Regions from separate parts of the Homo sapiens genome. Here region 2 is linked to region 1. Evidence: promoter capture Hi-C in 16 types of primary human blood cells and fetal thymus (Javierre and others, 2016). All regions are on one chromosome and are shown on one strand. The core of a region is centred on a gene start or on the middle of the fragment in contact, and the rest is flanking DNA. Distances in the headings are between cores, read along the strand shown. Region 1 holds the start of LSM14A (LSM14A mRNA processing body assembly factor). Region 2 holds the start of CEBPA (CCAAT enhancer binding protein alpha).

Region 1 (6,573 bases), core at 2,594-5,093:
AGAAAGAAGATCTGGAGGATTTGCGAGGCTTGTCCAAAGCAATTCCCAGCTAGTACACTGTTTTTTCCTTATATTTGTCTTTACTTTATGAGGCTAGGGGATGGCTGTTGGACAATATGGGAGAAACAAAGCCCTCAACCCTCACCACCTTTGGTGTGGCCACTGCTATCCACTATAACTCCTAATATACTCTGCATTCTTTAGGCTGTGGCCACACTGAATTGCTTACTTTCCAGAATGCATCTCACTCTTCCTCCTGTAATCACTCCATCTCCTGTTTGATCTGAAAGCTTCTTAATCCCATCTCTATTTCAGGCAAGATTTGAAGTCCCCCTCATACCATAGACAAAAATTGGCTCAAAATAAATCAAAGACCTAAATGTAAGAGCTAACACATAAAACTTAGAAGCAAACATTATGGGTAAATATTTGTATCCTGGATTAGGCAATGCTTTATTGCATATGACACCAAAAGTGCAAACAACAACAACAACAAAAATGAATAAACTGGACTTTATAAAAATTAAAAACTTTTGTGCTTCAAAGGACACTATCAAGAAAGTGAAAAGACAACCAATCCGCTGAATAAGAGAGACTATTTACAAATTATAGATCTGATTAGGGACTTGTATCTAGAATATATAAAAGAACTCTTGCCACTCAACAATAAAAAGAAAAATTGCCCAATTTAAAAGTGTTTAGCTGGGTGTGGGGCTCAACGCCTGTAATTCCAGCACTCTGGGAAGCCAAGGCGAGAGGATCACTTGAGTCCAGGCATTTGAGACCAACCTGGGCAACATGGCAAGGCCCTGTCTCTACAAAAAAATACAAAAATTATCTGGGCATGGTGGTTTGCACCTGTGGTCCCAGCTACCTGGGAGGCTGAGGTGGAGGATTGCTTGAGCCCAGGAAGGTTGCAGTGAGCCATGATAGGGCCACTGCATTCCAGCCTGGATGACAGAGTGGCACCCTGTCTCAAAAAGATACACAAATGGCGGGGTGCGGTGGCTCACGCCTGTAATCCCACCACTTTGGGAGGCCAAGGAGGGCGGATCACCTGAGGTCGGGAGTTTGAGACCAGCCTGACCAACATGGAGAAACCCCCACTCTACTAAAAATACAAAATTAGCCGGGCTTGGTGGTGCATGCCTGTAATCCCAGCTACTAGGGAGGCTGAGGCTGGAGAATCTCTTGAACCCGGGAGGCGGAGGTTGCGGTGAGCCAAGATCACGCCACTGCACTCCAGCCTGAGCAACAAGAGCGAAACACCGTCTCAAACAAACAAACAAAAAAAGATAGACAATAATAGGTGTTGGTGAGGCTGTGGAGAAAATTGGAGCCCTCATACAATTGCCAGTGGAAATGTAAAATAGTGTAGCTGCTTTGGAAAACAGTTTGACAGTTCCTCAAAAAGTTAAACTCTGAGTTACCATATGGCTCAACTACTTCATTCTTAGGAGGATTGAAAACACATGTTCCCACAAAAACTTGTTCATAGAGGTACTCATGGATATTTATAATAGCAGAAGTGAAAACAACCCAAATGTTCATCAACTGATAAATGGATAAACAAAATATGGTATGTCCATACAAAGGGATATTATTTAGCCTTGAAAGAATTTCCGGGCACGGTGGCTCACGCCTGTAATCCCAGCACTTTGGGAGGCCAAGGCAGGTGAACACTTGAGGCCAGGAGTTCAAGACCAGCCTGGCCAACATGGTGAAACCCATCTCTACTAAAAATACAAAAAATCAGTCAGGCGTGGTGGCATGCGCCTGTAATCCCAGCTACTCGGGAGGCTGAGGCAGGAGAATCGCTTGAACAGAGGAGACAGAGGTTGCAGTGAGCCGAGATGGCACCATTGCACTCCATCCCGAGTGACAGAGTGAGACTGTCTCAAAAAAACAAAAACAAATAATTCAACTTCCTCGCATGGACCTTGTACTGAAACAGGGATTTCCAAACCTTTCTTTGTAGCCACTGTGCACCAGCCCCATCAGAGCTCTGTCTCTCTCCTGTGTCCCTCTCTTATGATGCCAGGCTTCTCGCCATTTGCTCACTCAGCTCACCGTCCTGCCTGTGCTCTGCCTTCATCCTGCTGTTCATTCATGCAGCAAATATTAACTGAGCAGCTGCCCTGAGCCACGTGCTGTTACTAGGCCCCTGATGATACGGCAGCAACCAAAACAACATCACTATCTCAAAATGTTTACATTCTAGTGAAGGAGACAGATACATACAAATAATTAAACAGACATACTTGAGAGAGATACATGCTATAAAGAAAATACAAGCTGAGTTAAGGAGATGAGTGGTATTATTTTAAACAAGGCTGTCAGGGACGTCATCTCTGGAGGTGATGCTTGAGCAGAGACTGGAATAAAGTGCTCAAGTACTGGTTGAATTAGACGCGACTGGAACAGAACGAGAAGCTAAATCATGTATATCCTTAGACACCAAAGTCTGGTTTTCTCTCTGTGTAACATGGGATCAGTAGAGTGAGTAGAGGAAGGACATGATCTGAGTTAGATTTTTTTTTTTTTTTTTGAGACGGAGTCTCGCTCTGTCGCCCAGGCTGGAGTGCAGTGGCACAATCTCGGCTCACCACAACCTCCGCCTCCTGGGTTCAAGCAATTCTCCTGCCTCAGCCTCCCAAGTAGCTGAGACTATAGGCGCGCGCCACCACGCCTGGCTAATTTTTTTATATTTTTAGTAGAGACGGGGTTTCACCATGTTGGCCAGGCTGGTCTCGAACTCCTGACCGGTGATGCGCCCGCCTCGGGCCCCCAAAGTACTGGGAGTACAGGCGTGAGCCACTGCGCCCAGCCCTGAGTTAGATTTTAAGAAGATCTCTCTGGCTGCTGTATTGAGAATAAAGTACTGGGGGCAAGAGTTGACACAGAGGCAACTTTTAGAAGGCTACTGCAATAATTCAGCCCGAGTAATCGTGGCTTGTGGGAGAAGTGTAGGAATGGAGATGAGAAGTCAGATTTAGGATATATTGTGTATACATAACGGAGAGGTGTAGTCAGAACAGATGTGGAAGCAAGACAGGGCAAGGCTGACTCACGGCTTTTAGTCTGAGCAGCTGAGTAAAAATGGTACCGTTTACATCAAATAGGGAACGGTGGTGAAGGAGCAGGTTAGAGGGGAAACAGGGAGCATGGCTTTGGACCCTTAACGTTTGAGATTCGACAGAAACCCTGGTTCACGGAATTGATCCAAGCTACATACTGATAATTGGGATTAGTGAGTTACAATGGCGTTGCAAGCCATGAAACTGGTTCAGACCGGCTGAATGAGCGGGACAGGAAGGGGCTGAAACACTTGAGTCCTTGTGAGAGCCCCAGCTCCAGGGGCAGCCTCGGGGGAAGCTCCCCGGGCGATGACTGCGGTAATGGAGCCGTAGGAGCTCCACGAGGTGCAGGTTCAGCGTCTTAGAAGGATGAGCAGCGGCTCGCCACAGCTCGGAGGCGGGTGGGCAGCGCTCCAGGCCGAGGGCCCCGCGTCGGCAAAGACACAGGACCCACGACAAGGCGGCCACGGCCTGAGTCAAAAGGAAGGCCGCGCGCCTCCTCTCCAGCCCGCAGCAAGCGGGTGCCACGAGGCACTCAGCCGGTCCCCGAAGTTCCTCTCACGCGGCCCCAAGACCACCACCGTAGTCCAGGCCAACAAGCGCTGCCGGGACTCCCGAGGCCACGAATGAGCCGGGAGCCACCAGTAGCCGGCCAAGTCTCGCGAGAGCGCGGCCTCGCCCTCCCAGCATGCCCCGCGCCGCCGCCGCTGCCGCCGCCGCCGCCGCCGCCGCGCCGCGGCTTGAGGGCGGGAGGCTGGGGGAGGGTAGCGGAGCCGGCGCCGCCGCCATGTTGGGTCTGAAGCGGCTGCTGTAGGCGCCGACGGAGCGAGCGGGCGTGCGGAGCGGGCGACAGTGGCGTGGGATCTGCCTCTCTGCGAGCAGCTGGGAGCGGCGGCGGCGGCGCCATGAGCGGGGGCACCCCTTACATCGGCAGCAAGATCAGCCTCATCTCCAAGGCGGAGATCCGCTACGAGGGCATCCTCTACACCATCGACACCGAAAACTCCACCGTAGCCCTTGCCAAAGGTACGCGGGACCGGGCCTCAGGGTGGGGGCCGAGCCGGGCGCCGCTCGGGGCTGCTCCCCGCTCCGGCCCGCGGCCTCCTCGTTCCCTCCCCTCCCTCCGTCGAGCTCCGGGAGGCCTCTCGCCTCCCTTCTCCGGGCCCCGGCGTCGCGGGCCGGACCGCGGCCTCCCCGCGGCTCCCTGGTTTCCGCCCCCCGGAATGTCCGCGCCTGAAGCCCGGGGAACTACGGGACTGAGTGCGCGGCGGGCGGCCCTGAAGTCCGAGAACGGGCCGGAGAACACGGAGAAACGCGTCTTCCAACTCCGAAATTCGGGGCTTCTGCCGTCTTAGCACAAAACAAAGCCGGAGTATTCAAAGAATTTTTCCGCCCAGCTTGAGTTCATCGCGGATGCGTTGACTACACAGCACCCATTTTCTCACTTTGTTCATTTCAATTCGTGGCGATCTTCCTCTGGTGAACTCTTGAGTAATGTGCTAAAACTTTGGGTTTGCTCTGCGACGCAGACATTCTCGAAATGCCATCGATGCCGTGGAGCAGATCCCATCTCCCTCGGCTCATCCTCTGTTGGTATTTACCTGTTAAACCGGAATCCTCAAAGCCTGTTGTGCAACCACCTCATTAGGGCGCGTGGTAAAAATGCTTGCTGCTGCCCCGACGCCCCTGTTTCTGGAAACGGGTTCAAGCTTGATCCAGGATCCTTCTTGACCAGGCAAGCTTGACCTTTGATCCAGGCTCAGTGGGCGTTGACTGATCCCTCTGGAGGCTCTCTGGGAAAGGGAATTCGGCCGAGAAGGAAGGTGCCCCTACCCACAGTGTTAATATTTGGCATCCCTAGAGTCTGTGTGGGTTTTGTTTCCGTTCACACGTGCAGGGCCTTTGCTCCGCCAGGAAACCAGAAAGAAAATAAACTTTAGCTCCTGAATCTTAAAGGAAATCTCACAACAGTGTAAAATACTTTGAGGGAAGCTAGATAACCTAGGTGATTTTCCCAGCACTTCTGGTAGAGGTGGGAACTGCATAGCATGGTTAGGGACCCTGTGGATAGGTTAGGTCCAAGGATAAAGAAGAAGATTTTCGAAATCTGTAAAATTTTAAAAATCGTTAACAGATAGGGGAGTGGTTTCACGGGATCAAGTATTTAATAATATTTCTTGGATGCTCTGGTAAATCCTTTATTTATTTATTTATTTATTTATTTTTCTAAGATGGAGTTTAGCTCTTTTTGCTCAGGCTGGAGTGCAAAGGCAATGATTTCGGCTCACTGCAACGTCCGCCTCCCGGGTTCAAGTGATTCTCCTGCCTCAGCCTCCCAAGTAGCTGGGATTATAGGCGCCTGCCACCACCCCTAGCTAATTTGGTATTTTTAGTAGAGACGGGGTTTCACCATGTTGGCCAGGCTGGTCTCGAACTCCTGACCTCAGGTGATCCACCCGCCTCGGCCACCCAAAGTGCTGGGATTACAGGCATGAGCCACCGCGCCCAGCCTCTGGTAAATCTTTTTAATAGCCCTGGTGTTGGGACAAATCTTATACCTGGGTAGGGAACCTTTTGATGTTACAGAACTGTACACCATAAAGGAGTAGTATGAGATGGTGATAGTTGCACAACTCTGCAAATTTGCTGAAGATCATTGAATTATACACTTTTTAAAATCACCAAGTCTAATTTTAAAAGTAGTATGAAAAACCAGGGAGTACCCCCACATTTCCCTCTTCACCTTGTGAAACATTATGCAGTGACACATTACCTCATTAAAACACCTGTAGACTTGGCGGTTAGAAATCGGCTATAGGATGTATGATGGATGGTATTTGGTGTTTATTAAAGACTTTCCCAGTGATGCTTCTTAAGTAACTTAGTTTTTGCTTGGCCTTATTTTGAATTTATTTTTATATTTTTTATACAATAGTTACTTAGCTGTATAGTGTTTTTCTGGCTTTTTGAAATTATGAAAAAGCCTCTCTTTATGAAATTATGAAAAGTGCTGGGTGAGAGCCAGATATGGGTTGAAAATAATTTCTCATTAAAGTGGTTTAATAAATTTGTTTTAAAGTATTGCTTTACCTAATCTGAATTTAAAAGTGTCTTGCCAGCTTAGTGACTCAATAAGTTGGCTGTGTTACCTTTATTCCTCACAAAGAAAAAAAATACATTTGAAAATTTTAAAGTATTTTTGTTCTTTTTTAAAAACTACGAACATATCCTTTTATGCAGGAACCCCAAAAGTCTACATTTTAACAACCCACATTTTAAAAAACTTTTCAGCAGCTTTTAGAGTCAGTATTTCATTAGTCTGTAATAGTTAAATTCATATGACATAATGACATAAAATATAAATTTGTTCTTTGTGTCATGACTTGATAAATATATGAATATAGCAGTGAAAAATTTTTTTAATCATTGAATTTATGTTTGTACTCATGGCTTTGATATTTCATCCCACATCATTATATGCTTTTTCTTTTTCTTT
Region 2 (6,573 bases), core at 2,376-4,875, 870 kb before region 1:
GAGTACAGTGGTGTGATCTACAGCCTCCAACTCCTAGGCTCAAACGATCCTCCCACCTCAGCCTCCCGAGTAGCTGAGACTACAAGCATGTGACACCACACTTGGATAATGTTTTTGGAGACAAAGGGTCTCACTATGTTGCCCAGACTGTTCTTGAACTCCTGGGCTCAAGCAATCCTCCCACCTCAGTCTCTCAAAGTGCTGGAATTACAGGTATGAACCACTGCACCCAGCCTTTGCATTCTAAGGGGAGTTTCTGGACTTCAGGCCTACTGGAGTTCCCCAACACTGTCTTCTGCTATTGTCAAGCACAGGCAGCGGATGTGGGCACAGCAAATGGAGAGAAAGGGTGTCTATGCCAGCCAAACCCGGAGAGGCCTGTTCCTAGTGGGTGGGGCCAGAAGGCTAGAAAAATATAAATAAAAACAAACCGAAGGGAAGCAAAGCTCTTGGGTGCCAGAACGGGGCTGGCCAGGGCTGCAGCTGTCTGAGTAATGGGTTCCACATTTGTCTGGCTTGGTCTGCAGCCACCAGGATCCAGGGTGCACTGTGGGCCTTGCAAGGGCTGGAGGGGACAGTGCAGCTGCAGCTGGACCTAGCATACCCTTACGGCGGCCCCATCCCCGGCCGCCACAACAGGGTGGAGATGTCGCTGCGAGCTTCCACTTCGGCACCCCAGCTTCCCTCCCCTCACAGCCCCACCCCTGCCTGGGGCTCCTGGGTTCCCCCGGCCAACACAGATTGTTCGTGTTATTAATGCCGTTTTCCCAGAGATTCCATCTGGCTTTTTAATTGCTCTGGGATGGGGCTAGGATGCTTTGATAGTGAATCGGTATCTTCCCTGGGCCTCAGCTTACGTCAAACACTCCATCGGCAGAGAGGGGCGTGGGGGAGGGGGAGAGGTGGGGTTGTCCAGAGAGAAGAGATAGCAAGAGTCTTTCACAGAATCAAGAAAGCTTTCAAAGGTGCTAGTGGGTTAGTTTTATCTAAAGAAAGGAAAAAGAGGCCTGGCAGGGTGGCTCACGCTTGTAATCCCAGCACTTTGGGAGGCTGAGGAGGGAAGATCACTTGAGGCCGGCAATTCTGAACCAGCCTGGGAAACACAGTGAGACCCCCACCTCTACGAAAAATAAAATTAATCCCAGCAGCTACTTAAAGGCTGAGTAGGAGGCTGAGGCACGAGGATTGTATGAGTTCAGGAGTTTGAGGTTGTGGGAGTGGTGACTGCACCACTGTACACCATCCTGGGTGACAAAGTGAGACCCTGTCTCTAAAAAAAGAAAAGAACAGAAAAGCCTTCCCGTCCTCACTAGTATAGGAAAGAAACAGCTGGAATATCAACACCATCTAGGCAAGGACTCTGCCCCATGCCTGGAGAAGGCCTGTGGGTGCCTTGGAGGCCCCTCTTGGCTAAACAAAGTCAGGGGTTTCTGCTATCCCTTGTCCTTCCCCATGAGTGGCCCCTTCCCCTCCTGTGAGACCAGCAGCTCCTGGAGGAGGCCTGGCAGGTTCCTGCCTGGGAAGGAGCAGGTGGGAGAGCTGGGAGGGGCAGACACTCCTCACCAGGCCCAGTGGCTCATCGCAGGTGTCAGGGCCAAACCCCACGTTCACAGATTCCCAGGAGATCCAGGAGATAACAGTAATATCCGTGACAGCACTAAGCCATCAGGACGCATCTGGCAGCAGAGGAGATGCCTCCCTCCCTTCTACCCTTGCCCTTTCCTTGAAGGCCAGCTAACCCTGAACAGCGCTGTCACGGGACACAGGGCTCAGGAGTGGCGCAGCAAGGGGGGCGAGGTCCCTGCAGTCAGGTGCTACATGTCAAGGGGAGATCGATCAGGGCAAAGGAGAAGCATCCAGGCATCTTGGGACTGGGGCCAGCAGGAGGCCACCCTCCCCAGGTATTTCATCAAAGCTGCTGCCTCCATAAAGCCCTCCCTGGTGGACCCTGTTCACACTCTGAGATCCCCTTCATTGCACTTGGCAACCTTAAACCACAGCTTAGGGCCTCAAGGGTGTGAGCTCCCCAAGAGCCAGAGCAGAGTCGGCTTGTTCCCAGCCCAGTGCCCCATCTTTGGCGCAGGCCCTGGCATACAGTAGGCATCTGATAAATACTTGAGGTGTGTTCAGTGCTGGGCTCTTGGAATGGTTCTTCCTGAAGGCTGTAGTCAGGAGGGGAACTGTGAGGAACCCTGCAGGAAGCGGTGGGTGGCCAAGGGTGACTCTGTTCCCGGGAAGCCCCTACAGCTGGACACGGGGTACATGCTGGGCAGGTTCACCCCATGCCGCCCAAAAGACCTTCCTCCCCTCTACTTTGGCCCCCCCCGGGGGCCTCGCCCTCCTCATCCCTTTCCTGGGGCTGGATGTGATTGGATCCTTCTTGTCCCTAACAAAGCCCACCCTGGAACTCAGGACCAGGAGGAGGACTCGGGGTAGGAGGGATCCCTTCCGGGAGCCATCAGCTTTAAAAGAGGAAGCCCCTAGCGGGCTGGCACAGCAGAGAGGAGGGGAAGGAGTGAGGGCAGGAGGGTCGCCCCACCCCCTCCCGTCCTAGGACCTGTTCTGGGGGGAAAGGGGGAAGCCAGGGATCAGCCCCCTCAAACAAGAAAAACTGGAATTAGCACTGAACTCAGAGGGTTTGCTGGGGCTTAGCAAGCTGCGACCTGCCCCAGGCCTCGGGGCACGCGGCGGGGCTCTGCCTCCTCTGTTCCCAGGGTGGCGGGGCAGGCGCCGCCTCCTCACTGGGCTCGTGGCCTCTCCTCTGCCAAGGGCGGCCGTGGGTGAGGAGGCGGCCAGACACAGGACAGAGTGGGGGGCCGGAAGGGGTGCCAGCTAACCACGCAGGCAGGTAAAGCTAAGCTTCCAGAGTGTAAAAGGAATGTGTAATTTCTCGAAAATGCCCCAGCCCGCATTGGTACACACAGTAAGCCACTCAGTGAACATTCTCTCGGTACAGAGTTAAAAAAAAAAGAAAAGTGCAATTTATCTTTTACCCTCCGTGAGGGTAAAATCTGAAAAGCACCATCAGCCTCCTGGGCCTCTTTCTCCCGGGCCTTGTTAGTTCAGGGATAAGGGCTGCCCTCCCTTGCTTGGCTGTCACTGCTGCTAAGGGGGTGCCGGAGTGCCTGACCTTACAGGGTGCTCATTGGAGTTGGGGGCACACCAGCACTCAGTCCCCTGCTGGGTCTGGGATGAATGCAGTGGGGAGTGTGGATGCTGGGTGGGTTCTTGAACAGCCAGTGTGTGGGGCAGGACCAGACCCCTGTTGCAGGCCTGCCTCAGCCCCCTTTCTTGTGAGGGCTGGGGCTGGGCAGGTGTGGAGGGCTGGATGGAGGGGTCTCTCTCTTCAGGCTGCCTTCGGGCCTCGCAGGGGTAGGGTGTAGCCACATGGTCTAGGGAAAGAGGAGAGGGTTGGAGGGTCCTACCACTGGAGGCCTCTTCCTGCTGGCCGAGGGTCCTGCTGGAATCTGGAGCTGCGGTGTGTGTGAGTGGCCAGGGCTGCAGCTGTAGGTGATTTGCAAGGAAGTCTGCACAAAGGGCTCCTTGAGCCTAGGGCTGCTTAGCCAGGCCTACCCCTCAGGCAGAGGACTCCCTCTCCTCCTCCCCGGGGCAGATAAGAAGCCTCGCCAAGGCCTCAGCCCAGTAACCCCTTCAGCCCCCTCCCCTGACCCCAAGAGACTGCCTTCAGGCTCTGGACATACTCCATTTGGAGCCTTGTCCTCTGCTATTTATTTGTCTTGCCTGGGGGAAGTAAGTCACCCCCTTAGGGTAAGAGGGGCTCAGGATGGATGGAGAGCTCATGAAAGTCAGGATTGCCGCCAGGGAAAATGCTGTATTATTTACAAATGTGACCTGGCCCACAGACAACCTTGGAAGTAGCTTCTTTCTGGTTTTAAAAAGACACCGACATTGACTTTGATATGTTTATATTATAGATATAATACATAAAACATCTAGAGTGAGACTCTACGTTCTCCCCAAAAGAAGAGAACCAAGCCGTCCTTCCCTGCTCCCAGCCCCAGTGATGCGTTGGCGGGAGGCCACCTCCCTTCCCGACCAGGAGCCAGGGCCTCTGGGGGACAAGCCTTGTGGGCAGCCCAGGCCGGAGGGGCTGGGGAAAGCTGAGGGCAAAGGAGAACCCCCCTCACCTCATTGGTCCCCCAGGATCAAAAGTAATCCCAAAACCAAAAGGAAAGGGAGTCTCAGACCCTTCCCCCAGCTGCCGACGGAGAGTCTCATTTTGGCAAGTATCCGAGCAAAACCAAAACAAAACAAAAACCAAATAAAATGGTGGTTTAGCAGAGACGCGCACATTCACATTGCACAAGGCACTGCTGGGGCACAGAGGCCAGATACAAGTGTTGATATCGGCTGATAAAGCAAAATATTTGGAAAGCTTGTCATAACTCCGGTCCCTCTGGGATGGACTGATCGTGCTTCGTGTTCCTAGGCAATGCTGAAGGCATACAGTACAAACAAGGCTGAGGGTCCCAGTGGCCCTTCACCCCCCATGCCCGCCCCACAGCCAGATCTCTAGGTCTCCCTCTCCCACCAGGGGTATACATCCTCAGAGCTGACCCACGACCTAGCTTTCTGGTGTGACTCGGGGTGGGGGCTCCCACTGGTCACCTGGTGACCCCCATCGCAGTGAGTTCCGCCCCAAGGGGAAGCCCAGCCTATAGCAGGCTGGGGTGGGGTGTGTGCGGAGGGAGGTGGGAGAGGCGTGGAACTAGAGACCCTCCACCTTCATGTAGAACTAGGGGAACAACCTTAGGTTCCAAGCCCCAAGTCCCTATGTTTCCACCCCTTTCTAAGGACAGGCGTGGAGGAGCGGCTGGGGCTGGCGGGCTTGTCGGGATCTCAGCTCCCTGAGCCCTCCTCCTGCCACGGGCCTGCTCCCCTCCTTCTCTCATGGGGGTCTGCTGTAGCCTCGGGAAGGAGGCAGGAAACCTCCAAATAAAATGACAAGGCACGATTTGCTCCCCCTACTCAGTAGGCATTGGAGCGGTGAGTTTGCATTTCCAAGGCACAAGGTTATCCTAAATACTAGAGTTGCCGGGCTCCCAGCTCAGCCCCAAGAATTCTCCCCTCCTCGCAGGGAGAAGCCACCGCCTGGCCCCCTCATCTTAGACGCACCAAGTCCGGCGCAGAGGAAGGGAGGGGACACGCGGAGCAGGCCAGGCTTTCAGGAGGCACCGGAATCTCCTAGTCCTGGCTCGCACGGCTCGGGCAAGCCTCGAGATCCGGCGACCCCAAACCACTCCCTGGGTCCCCGCCGGAGGCTGGCCCAGGGCGGTCCCACAGCCGCGCGCCTCACGCGCAGTTGCCCATGGCCTTGACCAAGGAGCTCTCTGGCAGCTGGCGGAAGATGCCCCGCAGCGTGTCCAGTTCGCGGCTCAGCTGTTCCACCCGCTTGCGCAGGCGGTCATTGTCACTGGTCAGCTCCAGCACCTTCTGCTGCGTCTCCACGTTGCGCTGCTTGGCCTTGTCGCGGCTCTTGCGCACCGCGATGTTGTTGCGCTCGCGCCGCACCCGGTACTCGTTGCTGTTCTTGTCCACCGACTTCTTGGCCTTGCCCGCGCCGCTGCCGCCACTCGCGCGGAGGTCGGGGTGCGCGGCGCCCAGCCCCTTGAGCGCGCTGCCAGGGCCCGGCAGGCCGGCGGCACCGAGCGCGGGCGCGGGGTGCGGGCTGGGCACGGGCGTGGGCGGCGGCGTGGGGTGACCGGGCTGCAGGTGCATGGTGGTCTGGCCGCAGTGCGCGATCTGGAACTGCAGGTGCGGGGCGGCCAGGTGCGCGGGCGGCGGGTGCGGGTGCGGGTGCGAGGGCGGCGGCGGCGGCGGCGGCTGGTAAGGGAAGAGGCCGGCCAGCGCCAGCTGCTTGGCTTCATCCTCCTCGCGGGGCTCCTGCTTGATCACCAGCGGCCGCAGCGCCGGCGCCCCGACGCGCTCGTACAGGGGCTCCAGCCTGCCGTCCAGGTAGCCGGCGGCCGCGCAGCCGTAGCCGGGCGGGGGCCCGTGCGCTCCCCCGGGCATGACGGCGCCGCCGGGGCCCGCGGGCGCGCCCGGGTAGTCAAAGTCGCCGCCGCCGCCGCCGCCCGTGGGGCCCACGGCCGCCTTGGCCTTCTCCTGCTGCCGGCTGTGCTGGAACAGGTCGGCCAGGAACTCGTCGTTGAAGGCGGCCGGGTCGATGTAGGCGCTGATGTCGATGGACGTCTCGTGCTCGCAGATGCCGCCCAGCGGCTCCGGGGCGGCAGGTGGGGCGGGAGGCTGCGCGGGGCCCGCGCCCCGGGGAAAGCCGAAGGCGGCGCTGCTGGGCGCGTGCGGGGGGCTCTGCAGGTGGCTGCTCATCGGGGGCCGCGGCTCCGCCTCGTAGAAGTCGGCCGACTCCATGGGGGAGTTAGAGTTCTCCCGGCATGGCGAGCCTCGGCGGCCTCCAGCCTGCGCGGGGCGTCGCCGCCGCCCACCCGGAGACCCTGCTCGCCCGCGCCCGCGCACCTCCGGGTCGCGAATGGCCCGGCCCGCGCCGGCCCAGCTTTTATACCCGGCAGGCCGCGTCGCCCCCTAGAGTCCGAG

The links. The method cuts DNA at HindIII sites, captures the fragments that hold promoters and counts their contacts. A CHiCAGO score of 5 or more calls a contact.
Region 2: a fragment that was not itself captured here is called in contact with the fragment with the promoter of LSM14A in region 1 in 1 of 17 cell types (M0 macrophages); the score reaches 5.2 in M0 macrophages.

The regions. Positions count from the first base shown.
Region 1 is chr19:34,168,661-34,175,233 of GRCh38, forward strand. It overlaps LSM14A (LSM14A mRNA processing body assembly factor), which reads left to right and starts at 3,844. Exons shown (of 10, transcript NM_015578.4): 1 at 3,844-4,103. The coding sequence starts at 3,983. The HindIII fragment of the contact is 4,496 bases long and covers 289-4,784 here.
Region 2 is chr19:33,296,025-33,302,597 of GRCh38, forward strand. It overlaps CEBPA (CCAAT enhancer binding protein alpha), which reads right to left and starts at 6,510. Exons shown (of 1, transcript NM_004364.5): 1 at 3,910-6,510. The coding sequence starts at 6,390. The coding sequence ends at 5,314. RefSeq lists a silencer at 6,341-6,573. The HindIII fragment of the contact is 1,537 bases long and covers 2,858-4,394 here.